5 separate regions of the Homo sapiens genome follow, and all the other regions are linked to region 4. The links are contacts of gene promoters, found by promoter capture Hi-C in human tissues and cell types (Jung and others, 2019). All regions are on one chromosome and are shown on one strand. Each heading gives the region's core, a stretch centred on a gene start or on the middle of the fragment in contact. The rest is flanking DNA. Distances are from core to core; before and after follow the strand shown. Region 1 overlaps LOC101926889 (a long non-coding RNA gene). Region 2 has its middle 32 kb from the start of ENTPD6. Region 3 overlaps CST7 (cystatin F). Region 4 holds the start of CST5 (cystatin D). Region 5 overlaps APMAP (adipocyte plasma membrane associated protein).

Region 1 (2,926 bases), core at 404-2,903, 1.3 Mb before region 4:
TATGATAAGTTCTAACGTTGAATCATTCCCGCATTCCCAAATAAGCATACTTTTAAAATACATTGCTGGATTTGACTTGCTAACATTGTGTTTAGGTTCTTTGCTCCTACATTCACAAAAAGATTGGCTTCTAATGTTCTTTCTAATATAGTACTTGTTTAGAAACTATCAAGATTAAATTAGCCTTACAGAATGAGTTGGAGATTTTCTGCCTTTAAATCTTCTAAATGGGTTTAAGTTTTGAAGTTTCTATTTCTTGAATATTTGATGGAATATTTCTGTTTTCTGTGTGAAATATTTTAAACTGCTGATTCTATTTCTAATCAAGCTTTCTACTTCTTTCGCAGGCAGTTTTGGCATCTTTCTAAAGGAATCATCACATTTCACCTAAGTTTTCAGTGTTACTGGTATAACATTATTCACATCTTCTTAGCATTTGCAGCGATAGCCTCCATTTCACTCATAATAATTAATTTGTAAATTTTCCTTTTTTTCTTGGTCAGCATCTCCAGAAATGCCTAAGTTTTATTACTTCTCTTCCCCAAGAGCTAACTTTTGGCTTTGTGGAACTCCTCTGTATCTTTGTTTAATATTTTTAAATTTATTTCATCTTTATTATTTCTTTCTTTGTACTTAGAGTGTGTTGTTTTTTAAAATTTTCTAGTTTAAGCTGAACACATATTAATTTTTAGCCTATCTTCTTTTTTTAAATTAAAGACTAAAACTTTATTATTCTTATTTAAAATAAATGAAGCAAAAGAAGTTACAAGAGAACTTATGTCTAACCAAGAGGCAGGTGGGTGAGTGGGAAGGGAGGCTGTTCTCTGCTCACTGCAATGCTGCACATCATGGTGGAGAGTAGGTCATGCTGTGAGAAACAAACTCACTGGTCCAAACCCAAAGTTTGGGCTCAGAGACCCAGAGAACAGTGGAAGCGAGACTTTAATGACAATCTTGCAAGATCGGGTGTCTGATGGGCAGGCACACCCAGTACAGTTTCAAAAGCAATTTATCCCCTAGTGTGCAGGTCCCTCCCTTGGTTCCTCATAGGCTGAGTACTATGGGGTCACAGTCTTCCTGGACATTGCCTATTGGTTGTTGGGTAGGGGTTTTAGGCATTTTCTTTAGGATTGTTCTGCTGCATTTTGTTGCAGCCATAATACATTGCAATCCTAGTTAGCTCAAGGGCTCTTCAAGTACTTGACTTATGACCTAAGTATCTGGGCAGGCTGATAAGAACAGACAAAGTGAGCTATTTTGCAAGCTAGTAAACTTTCATCTTAGACTAAACTCCTTTGGTTTGGGTGAGGGCAACTAAGGCAGTGGGGTAGGGTGGAGGGTGGGGAGGCGACAAGCAGGCATTGGCTATCCAAGCAGGGGCCTAGTGTATCCTGTTTCTTCTGTAGTTTGCTGACCTAAACCAATTCAAGGCACTTTGTCTTGGAAATGGACCACTGTATATATTATTTCCTTCATGCTCAGTACAGATAGCTCTCTCAGGGTTATTGTTAACATTCAAGGGGTGATAAAACAAATGCTTCCTGCAGCCAATTCCATTATCTAAGAATCCAAGTCAAATTTTGTTTTGTTTTGTTGAGAAAGGGCATTGCAAAGGTTCAAAAAAATGAAGTCCAAATAGCACTGTATCATCAAGCATTTGCCTTTTTAAAGAATGTATGTATATTTTACAGCCCAGCACCTCACGCTCAGGAAGGGTGTTTCTGAAGACTGATAAAGCCCCTTCAGTGAATGGCGCCAGGGCACAGCTGTCCACGACAAAGTGAGGGTTAGTAACTGCAGCGAGGAAGCCACATCAGAGGCCTCCTGCCTTCAGCATGGGATAGACAGGATTGCGGAGAAGGGAGGAGTTCAGGTGAAGTTTAAAATGAAGCCGTTTCTGACAGGCTGAAAGCAGGGCTGTGGGTCACAGGGTGACACATCACACTGGGCTGAGAGGCTGACTTGGGGGCCCGAGCTCAAGACAAATGCACCATGTTGTATCTGGAAGCCCCTTATCTGAGGCTGTGAGCCAAGGTGAGAGCTCCAGGCTGCTTCTCTGTGTGGAGTGGCCTGCATGGCTGAGCATCTGCAGGCGACAGGATTCCAGACAGCAAGCTTTCTCAGGGCGGAGAAGTGGAGTACGAGATTTCTCAGCACAGAGGCTGAGGGAGCTGCCTCAGGCTGGCTATCTTTGTTCCTTAGCCCTGCTCTCCTATTACCTGGGGCCTGCCCCTCCTCCCACCTATCTCCTGGCTCCCAGTCTCCCAGGCTCCAGAATGCTTGGGCCAAGGTAGCTAGGTAACCAGAAGACACTCACCCTTGGTGCACTGGAAACAGTAACACCAGAGTGTCCTCCACATGACCCCAGAACTATGACAAGGTCCCCCTCAAAAACCATCCCTACTAGGGAGCCCCAAGCCAGGCTGCCCAGTGGGAGCTATGTGCTGCTGTCTTACTCGAAGTCAACTTTCAGCCTATCTTATAAGAAATGCAGTTAGAGCTTTGCATTTCCTATAAGCACCCTTGTAGCTCTGTCCCACACATTTGGCTGTATTGTATTTTTGTAATTGTCAGTTTGGAACATTTTCTAAAGTCCACTATTACAGTGTTTCTCTGTCCATGTGTTATTTAGAAATATTTTTGCTCTCTCCATTCCAAGATGGCCAGATAAGAATAGCTCCAGTCTGCAGCTCCCAGCATGATCCACGCAGAAGATGGGTGATTTCTGCATTTCCAACTGAGGTACCTGGTTCTTCTCATTGGGACTGGTTGGACAGTGGGTGCAGCCCACAGAGGGCGAGCCAAAGCAGGGTGGGGCATTGCCTCACCTGGGAACAACAAGGGGTTGGGGGATTTCCCTTTCCTAGCCAAAGGAAGCCGTGACAGACTGTACCTGGAAAAACGGGACACTCTCCCCCAAATACTG
Region 2 (2,821 bases), core at 201-2,700, 1.3 Mb before region 4:
TGGAGTGCAGTGGTGCAATATCAGCTCACTGCAACCTCTGCCTCCCAGGTTCAAGCGATTCTGCTCTTTCAGCCTCCCAAGTAGCTGGGACTACAGGTGCACACCACCATGCCCAACTAATTTTTGTATTTTTAGTAGAGATAGGGTTTCACCATATTGGCCAGGCTGGTCTCAAACTCCTGACCTCATGATGTGCCTTCCTTGGCGTCCCAAAGTGCTGGGATTACAGGCATGAGCCACCATGCCTGGCCAAGTATGTCACTTTCTAACAGGCCCAGGAGCCCCAAATTACCTTGTGACCACAAGAGAAAAGGAATTTCCCAACTTATAGGTATTTGAGGGTACAAACTCAAGGCTGCGCTTGGCTTCGTAAAAAGTCTTATCTGAGATTCATTTTATGGAACAATGTTCCATCAAAGCCAATTAAAAAAGCCTATGTGAAAATTATTCTTGCTGCACTTTACAAATAATCTGGCCAAGTATAAGACTAAAGCTTATTTTTGCAAACAAATTCATTCTACCATGATTTGTCTTTAGTAAAAATGTGAGACAGGGGAGAGAAAAATTATGTTTCAAAAACTGTGGTACACTTGTTATCAGATTCTAGTCTTATCAGTTGTTTTTGAACTGTTTTTCACCATACCGATGCTTTCTGACTCAGCTCCTCTCTACCCTGGGTATGAGATGCCCTAATAGTTAGGCAGGAATATCATTGCCCCTATTCAGCCTGAAGAAGTTAAAGAAGATAGATCTTCATCTGCTTACAGCCTTTAGGATTAAAGGTTCCCTTGTAAAAGGGAGGGGGGAAATATGCCAGAGGTGTTTGAACCAGAGCAACTCAATCTTGAATAGGGGTTGGGTAAAATAAGGCTGAGACCCATGGAGCTGCATTCCCAGGAGGTGGGGCATTCTAAGTCACAGGATGAGATAGGGGGTTGGCACAAGATACAGGTTACAAAAACTTTGCTGATAAAAGAGTGCAGTAAAGAAGCTGGCCAAAACCTACCAAAACCAAGAGGGCAATGAAAGTGACCTCTGGCTCATTATACACTAATTATAATGTGTTAGCATGCTAAGAGACATCCCACCAACACCACAACAGTTTATAAATGCCATGACAATGTCAGGAAGTTTCCCTATATGGTCTAAAAACGGGAGGAACCCTCAGTTCTGGTAATTGCCCACCCCTTTCCTCAAAAACTCATGAATAATCCATCCCTTGTTTAGCCTATAATCAGGAAATAACCATAAAAACAGCCAACCAGCAGCCTCAGGGCTGCTCTGCCTATGGAGTAGCCATTCTTATATTCCTTTACTTCCTTAATAGACTTGATTTCACTTAATAAAAAGAAATTATAGTATACACATGCAAAGGAATATTATTTAGTCCTTAAAAAGAAGGAAATCCTGCCATTTGTGACAACATAGATTGACCCAGAGGACATTATGTTAAGCAAAGTAAGCCAGGCACAGAAAGACAAATGCGGCAGGATCTCATTTATGGATGTATCTTAGTCCATTTGTGCTGCTATAACAAAATATCTGGGACTGGGTAACTTATAAGCAACAAAAATTTATTTCTTATGTTTCTGGAGGCTGGGAAGTCCAAGATCAAGACACTAGCATTGGTGTCTGATGAAGGCTGCTCCCTGCTTCCAAGATGGTGTCTTGTTGCTGCTTCCTCCAGAGGGATGCATGTGTCCTCACATGGAGGAAGATAGAAGGGTGAAAGAGCACTCCTTTTGACCTTGAGCCTTTTAATAAGGGTGCTAATCCCATCCATAAAAGTAGAGCCCTCATGACTTAATCACATCCCAAAGACCATACCTCTTAATACTACTGCACTGGGGATGGCTTCAACATAAATTTTGGAGGGGATGCCATCATTCAAACCATAGCAATGTGGACTCTAAAATAATCAAACTCAAAAGCAGAGAGTAGAATGGTGGTTTTCATGGGCTGTGGGGAGGGGGAAATGAGGAGATGATGATCAGAAGGTACGAAGCTTCAGTTATCCAGGATGAATGAGCTCTGGAGATTTGTGTGGCATGATGCCTATAGGTAACAATACTGCATTGTATACCTAAAATTTACTAAGGCAAGTTGATCTTATGGTAAGTGTTATTATCAAAACAGTGATGAAAACAAAATCCAAATACAAATAATAAAGGGGCTGGGTGCAGTGGTTCACAGCTGTAATCCCAGCACTTTGGGAGGCCAAGGTAGGTGGATCACTTGAGGTCAGGAGTTTGAGACCATCCTGGCCAACATGGTGAAACCGTGTCTCTACTAAAAATACAAAAATTAGCTGGGCATAGTGGCCTGTGCCTGTGATCCCAGCTGCTCAGGAGGCTGCTGTGGGAGGATCACTTGAGCCTGGGAGGCAGAGGTTGCAGTGAGCCATGATCGTGCCACTGCACTCCAGCGTGTGTGACAGAGCAAGACTGTCTCAATAATAATAATAATAATAATAATAATAATAATAATAATAATAAAGGGGTGGGAGAAAACTTTGGGAGGTGATGGATGTGTTTATGGCCTTGATGGTGGTGATGATTTCACAGGTACATACGTATCCCCAAACTTATCGAAATGTATACATTAAATATATACAGCTTTTTGTATGTTCATTTTACCTCAATAGAGTGGTTTTCTTTAAAAAAAGAATTAACAACAATCTGGCAGGTCCATGGGGAGGAGAGGCCCAGGTGGCTGAGGAAAGAGCGTCTGCATCCTGGAGCCCCGTCTGGGGACATGGGGGCACATGTGAGGCTGTGGCACAGAGAGCCCTGCCGAGAAGGATATGGCTCCAGCTTCATAT
Region 3 (3,069 bases), core at 38-2,537, 1.1 Mb before region 4:
GTGTTCCCGTTCTCTTGCTCTCTCTGCAGAGATATGCTATATATGATATACATATGATACATATCATATGTATGTATATGATACATATATAATTTCTGGATTGTTTGAAAGCTTTTCTTACTCTAACCCTCTCCACTCGCACCCCAGGACGCTCTTCCAGAGCTGTGTCTCCGCCTCTGGGACGGGAGGATGTCATCTGAGGAGCTCCTGGCACAGGCTCTACCTCCTGTTCTCCCGGATCCTCAGTCGTGCGGGAGTCTGGGAGGCCTGGCTTCCTCAGGGGTGAGGTTTGGGGCGCTGCGTTAGAGACGTGGTGACGGTGTTTTTCACAGTCCTGGGAGGGAGTGGGCTGGGGAAGAGAGGGCACATCTGAGAGAAGGGCCTGCTGCTTTACCTGCTTCAAGGTGTGGTTGGTTTGGAAGTCACAGTCATCCAGACGCAGGTGCTGGTTTTTCTTGCAGGTAGTTCTGCCAATTTCCACCTCCAGCATATATTTCAGGCCTTTCACTATCTGGAGGGAGCAAAGGGACTGGGTTACTGGGCACAGGGGAGGGAGGGCAGGCTTCTCCACTAGGAAGCAGGGCCTCAAGACAGTGGTGCAGGTGCCCACCGAGGAGAAGGGAAGTGGGCCAGCATCTTGGGGCAATGCTTCGGGCTTACGGCAGAGCCTGCAGACCCCTCCCACTCCCCTCCCTGCCCCGTGCTGGGTTTGTGCCCCTTCCTGAGACAGATGTCTCCTTTCTGGCCAGAGCTCTGCACTCAGGAGGGACGTCACACTAGGTCTCCTGCATGCCCTGCTGGGCCCGCCCTGCAGCCCTCACTCCAGCCCCATGATGGCTGTTTCTTGTGGCCTCTGTGTCAGGCCTGGGGTCTGCGGGCTTCCCCTCTCCATTCCTGGGGTCGGGAGTTTTGAGTTTCTGGACAGCCCTTCTCCACTTGGATATGGCAGCCGCCTTGTTCATTCTCATTTGTGGTCTTAGAGGAGTTGAAGAAAAATTCCTCAGGTTTTAGTCTCAGCTTTAGGGGAATTACGTTGTCCCCAATATCACCAAGCTAGAGAGAGACAACCTCCAAGTCCCCTCCCAGAGAACCCCAAGGACTCAGAACCAGGGCATCCCACTGGCCTACCCGGAGAAGGAGGGAGGGCCTGCATCACCCAGGGAAGATCCCCTGTCCCTGAGGCCAGGCTGCAGAGCGAGGACCCTGGCTACACACCCACGATTCTCATATGAAAACATGCTGTCCTTCACAAGTTTGCAATTGTCAAAAATAATTAGGTTATAAAAATCACCCCTCCCTGTGACCCAGCATAACCATGAACACTGTGAAGACTGCCTTGGACAGGGCTGCTTCTGCCCCTTACAGGCACCAGCACACGGTGGTGGGTGTCATCCACAGCCTGCATCCCACATTAGCAAGTGGGTGTTCTCAGGACACAGACAAGGGTCCTCTAGGAGGGAGGGTGCTGAGCGGGCGCAGTAGGAATGAGTCAGGGAAAGGGCAGTGGCTTGGGCAGAGCTCTTGGACTCTGGGATGTGAGTGAGCACTCCAGGGGGAAAGTGGCAAAGACACCTCTGGGCTGCAGGGCACGTGAGGGGTGAGGCCGGGTGAGGACCCTGGTCCCAGCAGGGGCAGCTCCTCGGACAGCGGCTTTCTCCCCCATCAGCCTTGGCGCCTGCCTCAGGAGCCCCATTAGGGCCCTGGCACCTCCTTACCCCATGCCTAGTAGGCTCTGGGCCAGGGGCCTGGTAACCACCCAGGAGCCGTGTGCTTTGTGTAACCTTTGCGCTTGGCCCTGGGGGATGCTGGCCTCAGCTGCTGCTGTCCACTCCCACCCCTTGTGCATCTGCTTTCTGCTCAGAGCTCTGCACTCAGCAGGGACTTCACATTATATCCGCCCTGCTCTCCTAGGTGTCGCGTTGTAGCAGCTCGGCTTCCTAGGGGTGTCCGTGATATGTGACCAGAACCCAGACCGTTACCTGAACTAGGGCCCTTGTGATGCGGGACTCCTTGAACAAGAACATGTCGTTCGTGCAGTTGTTGAACTTTTCAACACTGTATCTGGCTGCTTGGAGGACTCCTGGGTCATTGGTCTTTATTGTTTTAGGAAATCCTGGCTTCACACGTGAGTTAAGGTCCTGGGAACAAGTATCTGAAAGAGACAAAGAGCCAGACAAGAACACTGATGTTAGTGGGGCCTTCAGTCCAGGTGTCACGCCTCATGCCTCTGTGATGCTCAGTTCTCTGCTGGCGTGTGTGTCCTGGCCCTACCCACCCCTCACCTGCTCCCCCTCTTACCTACCCCTGTCACCTGTCCCTGCTTACCTGCCCCCACCCTACCCACCCCTAACCTGCCCCCCTCACCTGCCCCCTCACCTGTTCTCCCTCACCTGCCCCCTCTCACCTGCTCCCCTCACCTGCCCCCCTCACCTGCCCCCTCACCTGTCCCCCCCGACACCCCTGCAGTGCATTTATTGCTCCATTTTCAGAGCTGAGGACCAGGTGCCAGGGGGTGCAATGAACCTGTCCCCCACTTTCAGAACCCAGGGTTATTTCCAACGTAAGTGTTAAAAGCGGAACATGTCCCACAGGTGAGATCCTCAGTACGGGATGTAGCCTTAGGATGTAGGGAAAGTCAACCCCAGCCTGGCCCTCTGGGCGGTAGATGGAGGTAGTGCCTCCCACCGGAAGGAGATGGCGCCGTCCTCGTCTCAAGACCTTTTGCCCGCCTGGCTCTCAGTCTCAGGCCCAGCCCCCAGGAGGGCACCCCTCCTGGCAGCCTGCAGCACTTGGTACCCCTGCGCTGCCTCCTGACTTTCCAGGGACAGTCTTTTTCACTCCTATGAGTGACAGTGCACTGTGTCCCCAAGCTTCGTTGGGGTCGGGGAGGCCTGCCCTTCCTGTACCAAGGAGGGCTATATTTGGATAAAAGATGGGGAAGCAGCATCGGGGGCCTCCCCCACAGTCATGTCCCCTAGTATCTGTGCCTGAGGCTGCAGGACGTGCGTCTTTGTGCCTGCTATGGACTGGATGGAAAGCTGGGCCCCAGGGTGTTGAGGGCAGGGTGAT
Region 4 (2,724 bases), core at 88-2,587:
TGGCAGCACGTCTCCCAGAGGGGAGGAGCAAGAGAGGCTCTTGGGCTCCCACATTCATCCTGTGGCTGCTGCTCCTTCTCCTGACACCCCCACCACCTGCCAGGGGTCTCCCTGCGCCTTCCACCTGGACACACCCACAGTTACCGTGAGACTCCAGGTCGTTCCCTTCCCTGCTCACACCCCCTCCAGGAGCTTCCTCTTCCTGGAGCAGGCATGCCCAGCCTTGCCTCAGGGCCTTTGCACTGACTATTCCCTGCTGCCTGGGGCTTCTCAACCTTTCCGGTCTCTTAGAGACTTCCCTGACCAGGGTCCAGTAGCACCCACCCTCTCTCTAACTGAGCGACTATAATTCCCTGATCTAAATTGTTGATCACCACTCTGCATCCTCCCACACACCCTAATGGCTGGGCTATGCAGTACCACAGCCACCAGCAGCCACTCGTGGCCACAGGGCACTTGAAATGGGGCTAGTCCACAGTGACGCTTGGTCTAACTGTAAAAAATACACAGGGAACTTCAAGACATTACACTCACACAAAAGAATGTAAACTAGCTCCTTAAGAATAGTCCTGAAGTGTTGAAGTATTTTGGATATATTAGGTTAAAGTAGAAATACCAAAATTACTTTCAGCTGTATCTTTTAACTTTTTCAAATGTGTTTTAAATTGCTCCTGGGTTTCTGTCACATCTCTGTTGGATGGCAGCTCTGCAAGTTCATGTCTACGGCTCTATTGCCCAGACTGCTTGGTGCAGGGGGAAGCTGGTGACAGGTTTGTTTATTGAATAATGAGGAGTTATGAAACGAGAACCCAGTGAACTTTACCCAAAGGTTAATTACTTTATGTTTGGCAAAGAAGTTCCCCAGAAGAGGGCATGGACAAGGTCATCCCGGAGCTTCTGAAACAGCTCCCTGCCCCAGGAATTCCCAGACCATGACCACGTGCTCCTGGATGCCCCTGACATCTGAAGACTTTAGAAGGCCAAGCCCTGTATTTCTCCCTTTCCTGTGGACATAGGTGGTCACCAGGTTTCACAGCCCAGGGAGCGGTGTCACCTCTCTGGAATCCAGAGTGAGCCAAGCTTTAGAGCACTGAGGAAGAGGGGCAGGGCTGTGGGGAGGTTGCGGTCAGGACAGGAGTGGGGAGGAGGATGAGGAGGAGGCATGGGAGGAGCGAAGGGAACTTAGGGAGGGAGGGAGGTGGTTGGGGGTGGAAAGGGAGATAGAGACAGAAGAGGAGGGGTAGAAAGAGGAGGAGGAGCCAGGGGCGGGGCCAGGGAGCAGGTGGGGTTGGGGGACACCCAAGTAGGATAAATGCACAGCTAGCTTCTGGCCTGGGCTTCCTGCCTCAGCCTTCTGCTGCTTTGCTCTCTGGGAGATCCAGCTCCTTGCTCTGTGTCCCAGTAGAACATGATGTGGCCCATGCACACCCCACTGCTGCTGCTGACTGCCTTGATGGTGGCCGTGGCCGGGAGTGCCTCGGCCCAATCTAGGACCTTGGCAGGTGGCATCCATGCCACAGACCTCAATGACAAGAGTGTGCAGTGTGCCCTGGACTTTGCCATCAGCGAGTACAACAAGGTCATTAATAAGGATGAGTACTACAGCCGCCCTCTGCAGGTGATGGCTGCCTACCAGCAGGTGCGTGCTACCACCACCCTGGGGGTCCTGAGTCCCAGCTGGGTTTTTTGCCTCACCCCCCAGAGCACTCCCAGCAAATCAACATTATCTAAACCGCAGACTCATTCAGCTTTCTCTGACTGTCTGCTGATGGTCTTCATGCCCTAGGACACTCCTTGGCCGTGAGTGCATGAGTTCAGCCCTGTCCTGTCCCCTCGGCCTCTTTTAACCTGCAGCAGCCACTGTGTCTGTACCATGACTGTGGCATTTCCCAGGGTCCAGCAGGTGTGGATGGAGACTGTGCTGACTCTGGGTGGGCTTGATGCTGCTCAGGATGAGATCCAGGCCACGAGGTTCATCTTCCTCCCTGAGTCCTCTCCACAGGGGCCACACGGGAACCTGACTCCTTGTCCTGGATAGCCCCGCTTCCCTCCCAAGTCACGCCCCTGGGCACAGCCCGTTATGGCTAGTGGCCTTCACTCTCAGGCTGGCTGACCACCCCCTACAGCCCAGGACAGCTGAGTTCCTGCTGGGGTAGAGCATGCCTGACCCTGCCTCTGCCAGCTAACGCAGAGTTAGACCTCAGCAAAATGAGGACAGCAATCACCCAGCAGAGTGAAGGAGGTGGTTGGGTCCAGAGGGAGGAAGCTTCAGCAGGGCTACCGAGCCCAGCTTGACCTACGTCCCATGGCAGAGCAGCAGTGACACAGCGACCACAGGGCTATATGGCCTGCCAGCCTTTAGAGCTCCTCCACCTTCTCTTGGAAAGTCAGAGGAGTCCAGACCAGCCCTGTTTCTCCTCCTGCAGCCCTCTCCCTGCACAGGAGGGGCATTCCCTGGTGCTGTGGTCCCTGCTGGCCTGCACTCCCTCTTAAGTGTGTCACTCACTGGGAGTGAAGCACAGAATGATGTAGATCGTTGGGCCCTGGAGCCTATTTTACAGAGCAGCAGACTGACACCGGAGGGATCACAGGACTTCCATGTGGTTCTACAGGACTTGTGTGTGGTTCCACAGGGCAAGGTCTAGCACCCTGGTCCCAGGGTCCCTCATCCCATGCTTCTCCACAGTTCTGACAAGTCATGTTTTGGGGCGGCACTGTGCAGGG
Region 5 (3,073 bases), core at 540-3,039, 1.1 Mb before region 4:
TCTTGCCTTCAGAGAGTGTAGGCAATTTCAGGGTGCAGATGTCCTCATGGAGATGGGCATCCCTCCAGGCTCTTCCGAGAGATTGGGGCAAACAAACTGATTTCTCAAACTGCGCCTGGGAACTAAGTTGCCAGCGTTCCTGGATGTGTCAGCACAGGTTGGGAACCTGCAATGCTTTGTCAGTGAAAATGGATAGGGATCGATACAGTGTTCTTTATTTAAGTTAAAAAAAGAGTAAGAGGGAGGCAGACACCGAGAAAAGACAGAAGAATTGTGGTTAACTGTGAGTTTACAGGAAGCAACACTGATGAGGGCCTGCCGAAAAGTTAATGGACCTTGGGCTAAAATAAGTGTGGCACCCAGAGCAGGGGTCCAGGAGCTGTGCTTACCTCATTTATATAACAAGCTAACTCCATTTCAAGTGCTCAGGAACCACACATGGCTAGTAGCTATTGTATTTCCATCGTTGCAGAAAGTTCTATTGGACAGTGCAGCTCAAGGAGTTTTGTTTAAATTTAAGCTAGTATTTCTAATACGTGACCACAGAACTTTCCAGTGGAGGCTGGATGCTGATCAGGTGAGGTTGAGGAGGTGTTGGTGAAGTCTGACTGGGAAGGGAGCTGCATAGAGTTAGTGGTGTCCAGCTGCACATGAGGAACAACCGATGAAAGAGTTCGCAGGCCCACCCTGTACCTACCAAAGCAGAATCTCTGGCCCAGGTCATCTTGATGTAGCCCATCCAGGAGTTGGCTGCCTTTGGGAACAGTAGACTGAGTGGCCTCTAAATTCTTCTCCAGCTTTAGGAGAGTGTTACTGGTATGGTAGATCCCGCAGCATTGGGACACAAATCTTTGTCAATGGACTTTTGGCCTCCTTTCTGGCTGTAAGCCCCGTGGCTTTCAGTCCTGGCTGGACTTTTTGTTTGGGACATAATTGAGCCTCTAACTATTGTGTGAAGGGGCAACCAGGTATTTAAATGGGGTGCCACCAGCTCTGAATCAGATTACCACATCAAGATTTTAAAAATATAAGCTGCAGTGTGGTAAAGTAGAGGTCACAATGTTGGAGTCAAGACAGATGAGGAAAATCTGCCTTAGGTAGAATGATGTTAGGCAAGGAAAAAGTAGCGTTTTGGCAAGATTGTTACTGTTTATAATGAAGGTCATGAGGTGAAAACACAATGTACCTTCCCTAGAGGGACTCTTCTCTCCTGGGAGTGGGGTGGGTGATGGCATCAGCTTCCTTTAAGGCAGGCAGTCCCTGTTGGACTCAGTACCAGAGTGCAGTGAGGGCAGCTCTCAGGGCTGGCAGCCACACATCTTCACCATCCACCTTTCCATATGCTTTGTCTCTCTTTGGGGTTCACACTGTCAGAAGCGTTTCTGTCATTTACTTGTAACCAGCCCTGCTTTATTGTACAAGTACTTCATTTCTATTGTGTTGGAAGACTTTAGGTCACTTAAAGAAAATCACTTGGGTTGAAGGGTGTCCTAGCCATTGGAGTGGCAGTTTGCATGGTGGAGTCACTGACTTTGTTTTGTTTTTGTTTTTTTTTAACATCTTTATTGAGATGTAATTCACATACCATAAAATTAACCTACTTAAAATGTTCAAATCAGTGATTTTTAGTATAATGGCCAGTTTTGCAGTAATTACCGCAATCCAAGTTTAGAACATTCTTGTCACTGTCAACTTTTTTTTTTAGTTGAGGTGAAATTCGCATAACATACAATTAACCACTTTAAAGTGCACAGTTCAGTGATATTTAGTGTATTCACAATGTTGGGCAACCACCAACTCTCTCTGCTTTCAAAACTGTTTCATCACCCCATAAAAGCAAGGTGTTTACCTTGTACTGATTAAGTAATCACTCCCATTTCCCCCTCCCACACAAATGTTCAGCAGATGAGTGGGGCTAGACATGGTTGCTCATGCCTGCTCATCTCAGGGTGCACTTTGGAAGGCTAAGGTGGGAAGACTGCTTGAGGCCAGAAGTTCAAGACCAGCCTGGACAATGTAGCAAGATGTTTTCTCTACAGAAAGTAAAACAATTAGCCACGTGTGGTGGTGCACACCTGTAGTCCTAGCTACTTTGGGAGGCTGAGACAGGAGGATCACTTGAGCCCAGGAATTTGAGATAACAGTGAGATATGATCATGCCACTGTACTCCAGCCTGGTTGACATACTGAGACCGTGTCTTTATATTTAAAAAACAAAAAACCAGATGAGTGGGCAGCAAGTTGTGGTAGATACATACATAATCAACTGGTAAAAGGAACCATGTACAGATACATACTGCAACTTAGATGGGCCTAGAAAACACACTGAATGAAAGAAGCTAGTCATGAAAGGTCACTTGTTGTATGATTCCACTTATATGAAATGCCTAGAATAGGCAGATCACCATGAATTTTCACAGAGCTTTCAAACTCCCGCTCTGAGGGCTCTAGGTCTGGGCATCCTCCACTCCCTCCTCTTGCTCTTGGCAGGCAGCGCTTCTAATGGTGACCGCAGCCATAGAGTCACATCTGGCTCTCAGTTGCGCTTTTCCAGCTCTTGCATTGGCTGTGGGAAAGCCACTTGAGCCTTTCCCTGCCCACTTCCCTCATTTGTGAAGGAGAGAGATACCTGGTTCCATCTGGTTGCCCACGTAAAGCACATTTCTTGGCATACTCTCATTTGGACTGTTTGCCATTCCTCTTTTCCTGGCCCTTACTCCTTTCCCTGCTGCAGACCTCTCAGGTTGCATGAGCCTGCCGTCATGTCAGGTCGTAGTTCTGTGCTTTGTAGACATTTTTATGCCTGTGGTGCTTATACCCATGACTGGTATAAGTCAGTCACATTAGAAGAAGATTATTTGGTCCTGGGGTTTGGAGACAGGACTGGGAGGGAGAGGTTGACCTGACTTTCCCCTTCATTCTCACCTGCCCTCTTCCAGGAGCTGGGCTCCCTTGGCCTCTCCCTGGTGTGTCTGTGGCATTTTGTTTGTGTTTGTAGGGTCTGGACCACCTCCTTTCCCACCTAATAAAAGGGGTAAGGACTGGCAATGTGGCATTTTACCTGGCCTCAGGT

Evidence for each region. The method cuts DNA at HindIII sites, captures the fragments that hold promoters and counts their contacts. A contact is called where the count stands out against the background at its distance.
Region 1: a contact is called between a fragment that was not itself captured here and the fragment with the promoter of CST5 in region 4, in 1 of the 25 tissues and cell types used here (dorsolateral prefrontal cortex).
Region 2: a fragment that was not itself captured here is called in contact with the fragment with the promoter of CST5 in region 4 in 1 of the 25 tissues and cell types used here (dorsolateral prefrontal cortex).
Region 3: a contact is called between a fragment that was not itself captured here and the fragment with the promoter of CST5 in region 4, in 1 of the 25 tissues and cell types used here (dorsolateral prefrontal cortex).
Region 5: a fragment that was not itself captured here is called in contact with the fragment with the promoter of CST5 in region 4 in 1 of the 25 tissues and cell types used here (dorsolateral prefrontal cortex).

What each region holds. Positions count from the first base shown.
Region 1 is chr20:25,186,713-25,189,638 of GRCh38, reverse strand. LOC101926889 (a long non-coding RNA gene) reads left to right here. Exons shown (of 6, transcript NR_109994.1): 3 at 1,692-1,786; 4 at 2,660-2,742. Among named protein-coding and RNA genes, the nearest start is that of ENTPD6, 7.5 kb to the left of the region's middle. The HindIII fragment of the contact is 6,552 bases long and covers 1-2,926 here.
Region 2 is chr20:25,162,046-25,164,866 of GRCh38, reverse strand. It overlaps the pseudogene NIPAL1P1. Among named protein-coding and RNA genes, the nearest start is that of ENTPD6, 32 kb to the left of the region's middle. The HindIII fragment of the contact is 4,276 bases long and covers 1-2,821 here.
Region 3 is chr20:24,956,370-24,959,438 of GRCh38, reverse strand. It overlaps CST7 (cystatin F), which reads right to left. Exons shown (of 4, transcript NM_003650.4): 2 at 1,980-2,152; 3 at 395-511. Among named protein-coding and RNA genes, the nearest start is that of CST7, 8.6 kb to the right of the region's middle. The HindIII fragment of the contact is 6,257 bases long and covers 1-3,069 here.
Region 4 is chr20:23,878,361-23,881,084 of GRCh38, reverse strand. CST5 (cystatin D) reads left to right here and starts at 1,337. Exons shown (of 3, transcript NM_001900.5): 1 at 1,337-1,639. The coding sequence starts at 1,409. RefSeq lists an enhancer at 1,015-1,844. The HindIII fragment of the contact is 5,935 bases long and covers 1-2,724 here.
Region 5 is chr20:24,986,269-24,989,341 of GRCh38, reverse strand. The region is part of intron 1 of APMAP (adipocyte plasma membrane associated protein); the gene reads left to right. Among named protein-coding and RNA genes, the nearest start is that of APMAP, 4.9 kb to the left of the region's middle. The HindIII fragment of the contact is 6,757 bases long and covers 1-3,073 here.